Regions from separate parts of the Homo sapiens genome. Here region 2 is linked to region 1. The links are contacts of gene promoters, found by promoter capture Hi-C in blood cells and fetal thymus (Javierre and others, 2016). All regions are on one chromosome and are shown on one strand. The core of a region is centred on a gene start or on the middle of the fragment in contact, and the rest is flanking DNA. Distances in the headings are between cores, read along the strand shown.

What was found. The method cuts DNA at HindIII sites, captures the fragments that hold promoters and counts their contacts. A CHiCAGO score of 5 or more calls a contact.
Region 2: a contact is called between a fragment that was not itself captured here and the fragment with the promoter of OR52K2 in region 1, in 13 of 17 cell types (naive CD4 T cells, total CD8 T cells, naive CD8 T cells and 10 more). The highest score is 9.8, in naive CD4 T cells.

The regions. Positions count from the first base shown.
Region 1 is chr11:4,446,473-4,453,215 of GRCh38, forward strand. OR52K2 (olfactory receptor family 52 subfamily K member 2) reads left to right here and starts at 2,823. Exons shown (of 1, transcript NM_001005172.2): 1 at 2,823-3,889. The coding sequence starts at 2,868. The coding sequence ends at 3,812. The HindIII fragment of the contact is 8,565 bases long and covers 1-4,801 here.
Region 2 is chr11:4,174,230-4,180,972 of GRCh38, forward strand. No RefSeq gene overlaps it. Among named protein-coding and RNA genes, the nearest start is that of LINC02749, 9.6 kb to the right of the region's middle. RefSeq lists enhancers at 4,511-5,038, 5,039-5,565. The HindIII fragment of the contact is 842 bases long and covers 3,302-4,143 here.

The DNA of each region.
Region 1 (6,743 bases), core at 1,573-4,072:
CCTTTTAGGAAATGGCAAATAACCCAGTGTGGTTGAACCTAGGATGAATATTTAGGGGACTAAAAGGAGTAAGGCCAACAATTTAGGCAGGAATAGGTTTTCACAAAAGTTTAGTGATTTTTATTTTTCTTGTAGCAATGAGATCCTATAAGTGGTTTTCAGCACGGAAGTGTTAGGTTGGTGCAAAAGCAATTGCGGTTTTTGCATAAAAAGTAATGGCAAAAACCACAATTAATTTTGCACCAAACTAATAAAATATGTGGTCTGTCGCACTGTAGTGGATGAGGTGAGCAGGGGTAGAAAACTAAGGAGGTTTTTATACTGACAGGGGAAAGAGATGATGATATGTCAATTATGGAAGGCACAGGGCATGGAGAGAAGAAGAACAGCATGAGACAATTCAGGGGCAGAATCAAGGGCCACCATCACTGACTGAGAAAGAACTCCATGAGCTCCAGTACCTGTGGAAGGCCATATGCCTGGAGAATAATGAAAGAAGTGGAAGAGATGAGGCTGAAAAGTGAGTAGTGACCAGACCAAGCAGGATCTTGTAAGCCAGAGTTAGAATGTGCATTCCATCCTAAGTACAATGGTAGCCCATGAAGGCTTTAGTGAAGGCCTTGCCTGATAGAACTTGCTTTCTTAAATGGCCTTTTTGGCTGCAGTACAGAGAATGAATTATTATAGAAGGTACAAGATTCCATACCACTGAGAAGAGTTAGAAGACTTTTGTAGTCCAGATGAAAGATGATGGTGACTTAAATAAGAGTGCTTGGCAAGGCACACAAAAAGAGTAGGGACTGGAACACATAGGTCGATCACACTTGCCTTTTGAAATTGGATATAAAGGATGAGGAAGGGGACTGAATCAAGGATTACACCCTGGGTTTCTGACCTAGCTATAGGATGGATGGTAATAATACATACTGAGATGGGCAAGTCATGGAGAGGAAAGAGTTTGTGGAGACAGATTTCTGTTTTGGCCCTATTTTGTTTGAGACTTTAAAGTGGAACTATCCAGTGGGAAGTAGGATATGCTAGTTGGGAACTCAGAGTAGAAGCTAGACAGTTGAGCATTCCCTGAATATTGATTTCTCTTGGCATTTTTACCACCTAAGAGAGCACCTAGAGAAGTATGAGAATAAAAGGGCAACAAAAAGAGGAGAGAAAAGAAGAGAGAGAGAGGGGAATACACAAGCAATGATAAGATCATATAAGGGGAGTAGAGGAGATGGGAGCTAGATTGGAAGGAATTAAAAATTAAGAGATGAGGAATTAGATAATGAATTACTCAACTTTTTCAACAAACATTGTTGTGAAGGAAAACAGTTGCGGGTGTTAGATGGAGGGAGATATAAGGCCAAGGAATGCGGGATTGTGCTGATGTCAAGAAAAACATTTTAAAAAAGGGGGCAGATTTGTGTGGGAGGGGGAATATTGTAATGACAAATAACAGTTTTACAATGCTTTACAGTTTACAGGGACTCTTCTCATGATTTTATCTTTCCTCATCATGAAGCAGTAAAATTGTCATGGAAGATATGGTTATGCCTTCATCTATAGGTGAGGAACCTAAATCTTTAAAAATTTCAGTGATTAATACTAGTTTCTATTGGTAGGCTGATGGCTCAATCATTACTTAAACCCAAGTCTTTAGATTCTAATTTTTTTTCCTATATCATGATAATGAGTTTGAGTTATATTTCTGTTAACTTGAATATGCTGGATTTATACTTCTTAGGAAGCAATGAGGTAGAAGCAGAAGAGTGTAGTGATTTAAGACATTGGATTGGGAGGCAGCAAACCAGAGTTCTCGAAGCTCAAGTTTCATCTTTGACGTTTTCCAACTGTTCTGATTGTTAGTGACTTAGTCTTTTGTTTTCTCAATTCATAAGTGTCCACGTTTACTGAGCACTGTTTCAAGATTTGTGCTAAGTGTTTTAAAAGATCTCAAAATCCCCAAAAGAAAGTTTTTAGGCAGGAGCTGAAAAAAAAGGTGGCACAGGTCAAAAATATTGCAAGGAAATGTTTAAACGTTTTCAAGGGAAATGACAACAGAAGGTGGAAAAAGATAGAATGATAAGGATCCCAGATGGAAAAATAGTGTGAAGGGAATAGGTCAGTCTTGCAAAAAGGTAAGTGTGGGGCATCTCTTCTTCTGAATGTCATGAAGTCCAGGAAGGAAGAAGCACGTAGAGATGAAGGTTAAACTACAGTTAGGCAAAAGAGAACAACAAAAGGGCTTCTCATGTTCTCAAGTTACCTGGAGGTAGGGCTTTAGTTGGAGGGATTTCTGAGTGTCAAACAAGGACCTACGAAACCCTGCTAGAAAAAAAATCTAAAGAACTTGTAGGGAAGTGAATTATTAGAAAGTGCTAACTACATTTATTTTTCATATGACCAAGATTGACATTTCAGGGCAGAAACTCTTTCATAATTGGGAGTGTAGTTTGAATTGGAAGGCAATAGGAAGACAGTGACGGTAAATGTTTGTGGGTATGATTTGAATTAAGCAGCAATCTGTATTATTTACAAAGTTGCTTTTGGCCACATGCAGGCCACAAAAGGCTCTTCCTCCACTTGATTTCTCAATAAGGCTGCTTTGTAATACTAGCTTTATTGGAATTAAATGTCCTGAGCACCCAGTGTTTTTATAAACAGCTTAAGGGCAAGGATCATGCATAATATTTCATGATACATATGATTATTTTCTCATTTCTTTTCATGTCTAAAAATGGGTCTAAGAACTAATCTTCTCACAAGAATGATCAGAGTTTGAATGTGAGCATTGTAATTCTGCTGATATTGAATATTCTCTGGAAGGGCCCTGTGGAAGCAGATAAGGAGGAAGAGAATTCCCAGGAGCCATGTCAGCCTCCAATATCACCTTAACACATCCAACTGCCTTCTTGTTGGTGGGGATTCCAGGCCTGGAACACCTGCACATCTGGATCTCCATCCCTTTCTGCTTAGCATATACACTGGCCCTGCTTGGAAACTGCACTCTCCTTCTCATCATCCAGGCTGATGCAGCCCTCCATGAACCCATGTACCTCTTTCTGGCCATGTTGGCAGCCATCGACCTGGTCCTTTCCTCCTCAGCACTGCCCAAAATGCTTGCCATATTCTGGTTCAGGGATCGGGAGATAAACTTCTTTGCCTGTCTGGCCCAGATGTTCTTCCTTCACTCCTTCTCCATCATGGAGTCAGCAGTGCTGCTGGCCATGGCCTTTGACCGCTATGTGGCTATCTGCAAGCCACTGCACTACACCAAGGTCCTGACTGGGTCCCTCATCACCAAGATTGGCATGGCTGCTGTGGCCCGGGCTGTGACACTAATGACTCCACTCCCCTTCCTGCTGAGATGTTTCCACTACTGCCGAGGCCCAGTGATCGCTCACTGCTACTGTGAACACATGGCTGTGGTGAGGCTGGCGTGTGGGGACACTAGCTTCAACAATATCTATGGCATCGCTGTGGCCATGTTTATTGTGGTGTTGGACCTGCTCCTTGTTATCCTGTCTTATATCTTTATTCTTCAGGCAGTTCTACTGCTTGCCTCTCAGGAGGCCCGCTACAAGGCATTTGGGACATGTGTCTCTCATATAGGTGCCATCTTAGCCTTCTACACAACTGTGGTCATCTCTTCAGTCATGCACCGTGTAGCCCGCCATGCTGCCCCTCATGTCCACATCCTCCTTGCCAATTTCTATCTGCTCTTCCCACCCATGGTCAATCCCATAATCTATGGTGTCAAGACCAAGCAAATCCGTGAGAGCATCTTGGGAGTATTCCCAAGAAAGGATATGTAGAGGGTGAGGTGGAGAAAGAATGGGTTGGCTTGTCTGCTGGAGTTGGAGACAGGCTATGGTAGAATGTGCACGGCTGCCAGGATCTTCATGTTTAGTTTTTTCTTGGAAAAAAAAAAAATGATGTCCTGAAACTCAGAGCCACCAGTCTGTTCAGGACTCATGGGTCTGTGTCCTCTGGTAGCCTGTGGATTGAATGTGCTGACTGTGCTGTCTTCTCACAGTGCCCTCACCCCTATCAGTAACTTGACAGAGACTTGACCCATGGGTCTCCAGGTGACTTCACCGAAAGACACAAAGATGCTTCCAACTTCATTTGCTGAAGAGAAGACTTTGAAAATCTGAGTTTCTTTTCTTAGTCATTGGGAATTTGGTGAACTATCTACTCAGGACCTGGGTGAGGGCCAACAGTATATCTGACATAGGAATCCTTCATTCATTCTGACTGGTGGTGTCCAGCTTCTGATGAAACACTCAGTGTTAGGAAGTTTGAAACATTCCAGGGCTGCAGGTTCTGAGTAAGACACCTATGCTTGCTAGAAAATCATTTTTTCACCTAAGCCAGTATGTGTATTCTTTTGCTTATATTTACCAATCCATCCTTATGTCCAATTCCTTTTATTAAGTACTTTGAATAAGACATGTCCTCTGGCTTTATGTTTCATGCAACTCTTTCTTTGCACATAGATGTATCTTATGTTTTCAAGAATGAGAATGGCTCATTTATTTACTAATTCCACCAAATCTGTGATAGGGGATGGGGACACATATACTAAATTAGGGGTGTCAGACTTGTGTATTTGTCCTAAGACAGAGAAGGAAATGATAATTATGATAGATTCTGTTCTCTGAAATTTCCATCCCAAGGCCCAGCATAATAAAAGAAGAGCAAGACCAAGCAGATAGGAGGCAAGAATATTATGTTTCTCTTTTCCTGTCTCATGTGAACTTACCTACTATATAATTCTCTATTAATCCTGACAACACAGCTAAGCTTTTCACACAAGCCCTGTATAAATACATTGTTCTGCTGTTATCTTCTGACCCACTTGTTTCCTCAGATATTATTGCTTAGAAATTATATATCTCTTTTGCTATCACTGTATCTTTCTCTATTTACCTGTCTATATTATTTAGCCTTGAAAGATAATTTCCAAGCCTATTTCAGGTGGGGTGTAGAAGGTTGGAAGCTGTCCAGGAGGGAAGAGTATAGCAAGAACCTAGAGTTTTACTTCCCCTTATATTCCACCTCTGCTCTTATAATTCCCTTTGACACAAAAACAAATACCCCAGAGAAATAATGTATTACATAAAAAATTGCTACATGCTAGATATATATATTTTTGGAGTATATGTGATATTCTGATATATTCATATAATAGATAATGATCAAATCAGGATAATTGGAATATCCATGACCTTAAATGTTTCTTTTATGCTAGGAACATTAAAATTATTCTCTTCTAGCTATTTTGATATATACAGTAGATTGTTTTCTATAGTCCCTACTGATTTCTTGAACACTACATCTTGTTATTTTTTATATCTAGCTGTATTTTTATACTCAATTAATCTCTTATCCTCCCTGCCTCCCTTCCCAGCCCCCAATAACCACCAATCTGCTCTCTATTTTCATGAGCTGTACTTAGCATCCACATGAGTGAGAAATACAATAATTGTCTTTCTGTACCTGGCTTGTTTCACTTAACTTAATGACCTACAGTTTCATCCACGTTGCTGCAAGTGACAGGATTTCATTCTTTCTTATGACTAATATTCCATGTGTATCATATTTTTCTTTATCCATTCAGATATTAATAGCACTTACATTGATTCCATGTTTTGGCTATTGTGTCTAGTACTAAATATAGGAATACAGATATCTCTTTGACATATTGATTCCTTTCTTTTGAATAAATACCTAGTAGTGGGATTACTAAATCTCATGGTAGTTATATTTTTAGTATTTTGAGGAACTTCCATACTGTTTTTCAGAGTGGTTGTATTAATTTGCATTCCCTCCAGAATTGTTGAGGACTAGATATGCTAATGGCAGCACAAGGAAGACTTTGTTCAGCCTTAGATGAAAAGTATTGCTTTTGGGTAAACCAACTGTGAAAAGTACAGGACAACATCACACGACTTCCAAATCAAGCCTCCATTTATTATGGGAACTTGCCTCTCAGGGTTGGTTAGATAGGGAAGGAGCCTGGAAATGGTTCTCCTGGGTTCTTTCCTTTTTAGGACCACTTGTTATTCTCCTAGTTTTGCACCTTTTTGGTTCAGGTCTTCTAAATTCTAAACCCAATTTGTCTCCTCTCACCCCCAGGCCATCAAGCTCCAGATGGTCCTCCGTGAGGTATACTGTCCTCTCAATATTCAAGAGGTACCCTTCTACAGGGAACCGCTAGACTGCTCATCAGTGGACAGAAAGTAGGCAAAATTCTGCCCCTGGACCTGGCTGGATACCACTTTTGCTAAGCCACTGAGTCACCCTCCTGCCCTGACAGCAAGAGGCCAAGACCCACAGAACCACCACCACCACCCCTCTGTCAGCAGAAAGCAGTTACAAAAGACTGACCTTCATCCATTTTCCTCCAAAGATTTGGGGTCTTGGGCTCTTGAGTGGGGGGAAACATTACAGGTAGTTAGACAGGCATGAGTGGGGCAGGAGGGGGCCCTACCACCTACCCACCAGGAATGTCTGACTATAGTCAAGTGATGGTTGGGCAGTTACCACACTGCCCCTCTAAAAATGATAACTTGGCCATCAGTGCCAGGGAGAGACAATCTCCCGATGGTCCAAGCTGCCACACTAAAGTGTTAATTGAATTCAGGTACCTAAGAGAGGCAACTTCCCAAACAGATGAAAATACTTGAGATTGGTAATCAGTTTCCAGTAAAATCACAGGAAATGAGCAAGTGAGCCTGGGC
Region 2 (6,743 bases), core at 2,473-4,972, 270 kb before region 1:
ATTTAGTCCATTTACATTTAAAGTTAATATTGTTATGTGTGAATTTGATCCTGTCATTATGATGTTAGCTGGTTATTTTGCTCATTAGTTGATGCAGTTTCTTCCTAGTCTCGATGGTCTTTACATTTTGGCATGATTTTGCAGCAGCTGGTACTGGTTGTTCCTTTCCATATTTAGTGCTTCCTTCAGGAGCTCTTGTAGGGCAGGCCTGGTGGTGACAAAATCTCTCAGCATTTGCTTGTCTGTAAAGTATTTTATTTCTCCTTCGCTTATGAAGCTTAGTTTGGCTGGATATGAAATTCTGGGTTGAAAATTCTTTTCTTTAAGAATGTTGAATATTGGCCCCCACTCTCTTCTGGCTTGTAGGGTTTCTGCCGAGAGATCCGCTGTTAGTCTGATGGGCTTCCCTTTGAGGGTAACCCGACCTTTCTCTCTGGCTGCCCTTAACATTTTTTCCTTCATTTCAACTTTGGTGAATCTGACAATTATGTGTCTTGGAGTTGCTCTTCTCGAGGAGTATCTTTGTGGCGTTCTCTGTATTTCCTGAATCTGAACGTTGGCCTGCCTTGCTAGATTGGGGAAGTTCTCCTGGATAATATCCTGCAGAGTGTTTTCCAAGTTGGTTCCATTCTCCCCATCACTTTCAGGTACACCAATCAGACGTAGATTTGGTCTTTTCACATCGTCCCATATTTCTTGGAGGCTTTGCTCATTTCTTTTTATTCTTTTTTCTCTAAACTTCCCTTCTCGCTTCATTTCATTCATTTCATCTTCCATCGCTGATACCCTTTCTTCCAGTTGATTGCATCGGCTCCTGAGGCTTCTGCAGTCTTCACGTAGTTCTCGAGCCTTGGTTTTCAGCTCCATCAGCTCCTTTAAGCACTTCTCTGTATTGGTTATTCTAGTTATACATTCTTCTAAATTTTTTTCAAAGTTTTCAACTTCTTTGCCTTTGGTTTGAATGTCCTCCCGTAGCTCAGAGTAATTTGATCGTCTGAAGCCTTCTTCTCTCAGCTCATCAAAGTCATTCTCCATCCAGCTTTGTTCCGTTGCTGGTGAGGAACTGCGTTCCTTTGGAGGAGGAGAGGTGCTCTGCTTTTCAGAGTTTCCAGTTTTTCTGTTCTGTTTTTTCCCCATCTTTGTGGTTTTATCTACTTTTGGTCTTTGATGATGGTGATGTACAGATGGGTTTTTGCTGTGGATGTCCTTTCTGTTTGTTAGTTTTCCTTCTAACAGACAGGACCCTCAGCTGCAGGTCTGTTGGAATACCCTGCCGTGTGAGGTGTCAGTGTGCCCCTGCTGGGGGGTGCCTCCCAGTTAGGCTGCTCGGGAGTCAGGGGTCAGGGACCCACTTGAGGAGGCAGTCTGCCCGTTCTCAGATCTCCAGCTGCGTGCTGGGAGAACCACTGCTCTCTTCAAAGCTGTCAGACAGGAACATTTAAGTCTGCAGAAGTAACTGCTGTCTTTTTGTTTGTCTGTGCCCTGCCCCCAGAGGTGGAGCCTACAGAGGCAGGCAGGCCTCCTTGAGCTATGGTGGGCTCCACCCAGTTCCAGCTTCCAGGCTGCTTTGTTTACCTAATCAAGCCTGGGTAATGGCAGGCGCCCCGCCCCCAGCCTCGCTGCCGCCTTGCAGTTTGATCTCAGACTGCTGTGCTAGCAATCAGCGAGACTCCGTGGGTGTAGGACCCTCCGAGCCAGGTGTGGGATATAATCTGGTGGTGCGCCGTTTTTTAAGCCCGTCGGAAAAACGGAGTATTCGGGTGGGAGTGACCCGATTTTCCAGGTGCTGTCCGTCACCCCTTTCTTTGACTGGGAAAGGGAACTAACTCCCTGACCCCTTGCGCTTCCCAAGTGAGGCAATGCCTCACCCTGCTTCGGCTCGCGCACGGTGCGCGCACCCACTGACCTGCGCCCACTGTCTGGCACTCCCTAGTGAGATGAACCCGGTACCTCAGATGGAAATGCGGAAATCACCCGTCTTCTGCGTCGCTCACGCTGGGAGCTGTAGACGGGAGCTGTTCCTATTCGGCCATCTTGGCTCCTCCCCACTTTGCCCACTTTTAAATGAGGTTATTTGTTTTCTTACTGCTGAGCTGTTTGAATTCCTTGGATATTCTCGGGATATTAGTTCTTTGTTGGATGAATAATTTGTAAATATTTTATCCCAATCAGGAGGTCGTCTCTTCACTTTATTGATTGTTTCCTTCGCTGCACAGAAACTTTTTAGTTTAATATAGTCCCATTTGTCTAGTTTTGTTTTTGTTGCCTATGCTTTTGATGTCTTAGCCATAAAATCTTTGCCTACACCAAAGTCCTAAAGTGTTTCCCTGTGCTTTATGCTTTCTTCTATTGGTTTTATAATTTTGGGTGTTACGTTTAAGTCTTTAATCCATCCTGAGTTGATTTTTTGTATAGTGAGAAATAGGGTCTAGTTTCATTCTTTCACATATGGATATCCAACTTTCCCAGCACTGTTTATTCAAGAGACTGTCCTTCAATGTATATTCTTGGCACTTTTGTTGGAAATCATTGGCTGTAAACACATGCATGTATTTCTGGATTCTCTATTCTGTTTTATTGTTCTATGTGTCTGTTTTTATTCCAATAGCATGCTGCTTTGGTTAATATAGCTTTGTGATATATTCTGAAGTCAGCTAGTGTGAAACTTTCGGCTTTGTTGTTTTTGCTCAGGATTGCTTTGGCTATTTAGGCTCCTTTTTGGTTCCAGAATAGTTTTAGTGTTGTTTTTTCTATTTCTGTCAAAACTGACATTGGTATTTTGATAGTGATTGCCTTGAATCTGTGGTTTTTTTGGGCAGTGTGGTCATCTTTTTTTTTTTTTTTTTTTTTTTTTTTTAGATGGAGTCTCACTCCCGTTGCTCAGGCTGGAGTGCAGTGGCACAATCTTGGCTCACTGCAACCTCCACCTCTCAGGTTCAAGCGATTCTCCTTCCTCAGCCTCCTGAGTAGCTGGGATTACAGGTGTGTGCCACCATGCCTGGCTAACTTTGTATTTTTAATAGAGATGGGGTTTCACCATGTTGGCCAGGCTGGTCTTGAACTCCTGACCTCAGGTGATCCACCTGCCTCGGCTTCCCAAAGTGTTAGGATTACAGGTGTGAGCCACCGTGCCCGGCCAGTATAGTCATCTTAAGGACATCAATTATTTTGATTTAAGAACATAGGCTCTCTTTCCATTTGTTTGTGTCCTCTTTAATTTATTTCATCAGTGTTTTGTAGTTTTCCTTGTTTTTTGCCTCACGATTAAATTTATTCCTAGGTATTTTATTTTATTTTTAAAAGCTTGTTTTCTTTTTTAATTGGCATATAATAATAGTACATATTTATGGAATCCCAAGTTATGTTTTGATACATACAGTGTAGACTTTTTCTTCCACTAATTTTGGTTTTGGTTTTCTCTTGCTTTTCTCATTCCTTGAGGTGCATTGTTAGATTATTTGAATTCTTTCCACTTTTTTGATGTAGGCATTTATTGCTATAAACTACCATTTAGCACTGCTTTTGCTGTATCCCATAGATTTTGGTATGTTGTGTTTTGATTTTCATTTGTTTCAAGAAATTTTTTGATTTCCTTTTAAATTTCTTTTTTGATCCAATGGCCATTCAGGGACATGTTGTTTAATTTCCATATATTTGTGCAGTTTCCAACATTCCTCTTGTTATTAACTTCTGGTTTTATTTTATTGTGGTCTGAGAAGGTACTTCATATGATTTTGATATTTAAAAATTTGTGGAGACTTGTTTTGTGTGCTAACATATGGTTTATCCTGGAGCATGTTCCATATGCTGATGAGAAGAATGTGTGTTTTGTAGCTGTTGGATGAAATGTCCTGTAAATTTTTGTTAGGTATATTTGGTATAATGTGCAGTTTTAATTCAATGTTTCTTTGTTAATTTTCTGTCTAGATCAGGGGTGTCCAATTTCTTGGCTTCCCTAAGGCACATTGGAAAAAGAATTGTCTTGAGCCACACATAAAATACAGTAACACTAACGAATAGCTGATGAGCTTAAAATAAATTGCAAAAGCTCTCATTATGTTTTAAGAAAGTTTATGAATTTGTGTTGAGCTGCATTCAAAGCCATCCTGGGCTGCATGTGGCCTGCAGGCCATAGGTTGAACAAGCTTGGTCTAGATAATCTGTTTAATGCTGAGAGTGGGGTGTTGAAGTTCACAACTCTTATTGTACTGGAGTCTACTTCTTTCTTTACATCTAATAATATTTGCTTTATATATCTGGGTGCTCTGATGTTGGGTGCATATATGTTTAGAATTGTTATATTCTTTTGCCAAATTGATCCCTTTATCATTATATAATGATTGTCTTTATCTCTTTTTATTGTTTTTGACTTAAAGTCTGTCTTATCTCTTATATGTACAGCTATTCCTGCTTGCCTTTGGTTTTCATTTGCATGGACTTTTTTCATCCCTTTAGTTTAAATCTATATGTGTCTTTATACATAAGGTGAGTTTCTTTTAGGAAGCATATAGTTGGGTCATGTTTTTTAATTCATTTAGCCAGTCTTTGTCTTTTATTTGGAAAGTTTAATCTGTTTGTATTCAAGGTTATTATTGATACATGATTTTATTAAATAATTTCTGGTGGCTGCATTGGGCTTGGGAGGCCAGTCCCTAGGCACATAGTGCGTACGTATGTGTGGGTGTCAGCTGTGGTGGTAGAGGCAGGTTGGGTGGGCCTGATCTCAGGCCCTGGGAAAGTGTTTGGGTGCCAAAGGTGATGAACTGGGTTGGGTGATTCCCATACCCAAAGATGACATGCTTAGGCACTGGGAAGGAGGAGTGGAGCCAGGCCTGGCTCCTTAGGCCCCTTAGTAGTGTGTGTAGGCACTGGCTGTGTTAGGCAGAGGCAGGTGATCCCTAGGCTCCTGGTGGTATGTTGGGGTGGAGGTGTCACTGCCACCCTGCTACTGGGGAGCACAGGGTTGCTTTCAGTGGCAGCAGCAGTAGGCAGGGAGCTGGGGAGCATGCACTTTGCTTGTGCTTTGGCAGCAGTAGGCAGGGAGCTGGGGAGCATGCACTTTGCTTGTGCTTTGGCAGCAGTAGGCAGGGAGCTGGGGAGCATGCACTTTGCTTGTGCTTTGGCAGCAGTAGGCAGGGAGCTGGGGAGCATGCACTTTGCTTGTGCTTTGGCAGTGGCAGTGGCTGTGGGGCAGGGGAGTCTGTCCTCAGGGCTTGTGAAATGCATAGTAACTGCTGCTGGGGGCACTGGAATCCGTGCCAATGGCTTCTGTTTTGACCCTGGGATCATCCAGCAGCTGCAGAGGCTGTAGGTTGGGTAGCCTTTCCTCAGGCCATATGAAATGTACTGTCACCCCTCTGTTGGGGGTGGGGGGTGGAGTTGCAAGCTGATGCTCTCAGTCAACCCCTTCCTCTGCTAACCATTGGTTTGCAGGCTGCATAATCCACTCTAACTTTGGGCAGGACTTCTAAGAGCTTCTAATCTGTAACTCCTTTTTGTACACCAACCCCAACCACCCAGCCTTGGGAAACTGAGTGTACAAGGCCTCAGCCTGGGTACACCGAAAGGAAGCAGAGAGGAGAAGCGAGTCAAGAAGCTTGAGATCTGACACAGGTTCTGGCAAGTGCCCTTGGGCCAGGGACTCTTATTTCCTCTTCCATAGAAGGTAGATGTTGGACTGGTGGCTTCTCATGGCCTTTCCCTTCCTGCATCAAACTTGTGATGTTTCTAGTGAATTTTGTATGATTGTAGTTTGGGAAGCTCTTTCATGTTCCCCAATTGACTTGATTTTTCGAACACTTGGGAGGTAGGTGGTACCAACCCACTTTACAGATGAGGGAACTGAGCTTTGGAGTGAGCAATCTCATAGCCAGTTGGTAACAGAACCAGGTCTGGAGTTGGCCCCCTGACTCCTATCTCCTGAGTTCACCCTGATTGCTGGGAGCTGGAGGAGCTTTTGGCACTGGGGGCAGATTGTTTTCTCCAAATGAGGCAGGCATGGGACCAGGACAAGCCAGGTCTCCTCTCCTCTTGCCCACCCTACTCACTCAGGCTAATACCTCCTATCCTGCTGTATCTAGTCTTAAAAATGGGTCTCTGTCCCCTCAGGGGGATCCTCTGGCCTCTCCAACCTTAGCTGCTCTTCTAGGAAAGTGGGCCAAAGAAAATTTCTGGTTTGGTTTGCATGTGTCCCCCAAAGTTCATGTATTGGCAACTTAATCTCCAATGAAACAATGTTGAGAGGTGGGACCTTTAAGAGGTGATTATGTAATGAATGGATTACTCTGCCCTCATGAATGGATTAATGCCATTATCACAGGAATGGATTCCTGATACAATGATGAGTTTGGTCCCCTTTCCCTTCCTCTCTCATGCTCTCTTGTCCCTCCACTTCTGCTGCAGGATGACACAGCAAGAAGGCCCTCACCAGATGCTGAGCAGATGCCGGCACCATGCCTGTGGACTTCCCAGCCTCCAGAACTGTGAGCCAAATAAATTTCTTTATACATTTCCCAGTCTCAGGTATTCTGTTAGCGGCACAAAACAGTAAATACCTTCCATGAGGCGGCAGGCAAGTAGGCCCCTGGCCCAGATGAGGAGGCTTCCTTTTCTCAGTGGGGTAGCTCTCAAATCTCCCATGCAGGGTGGGGGCGAATTCCTCCAGACAAGCTTCAGGGCCTTGGCCTTGCCTCAGTTAGGGGAAGGGGCCTGATTAGAGGTCTTTCAGTGAGAGGTGATGAGCG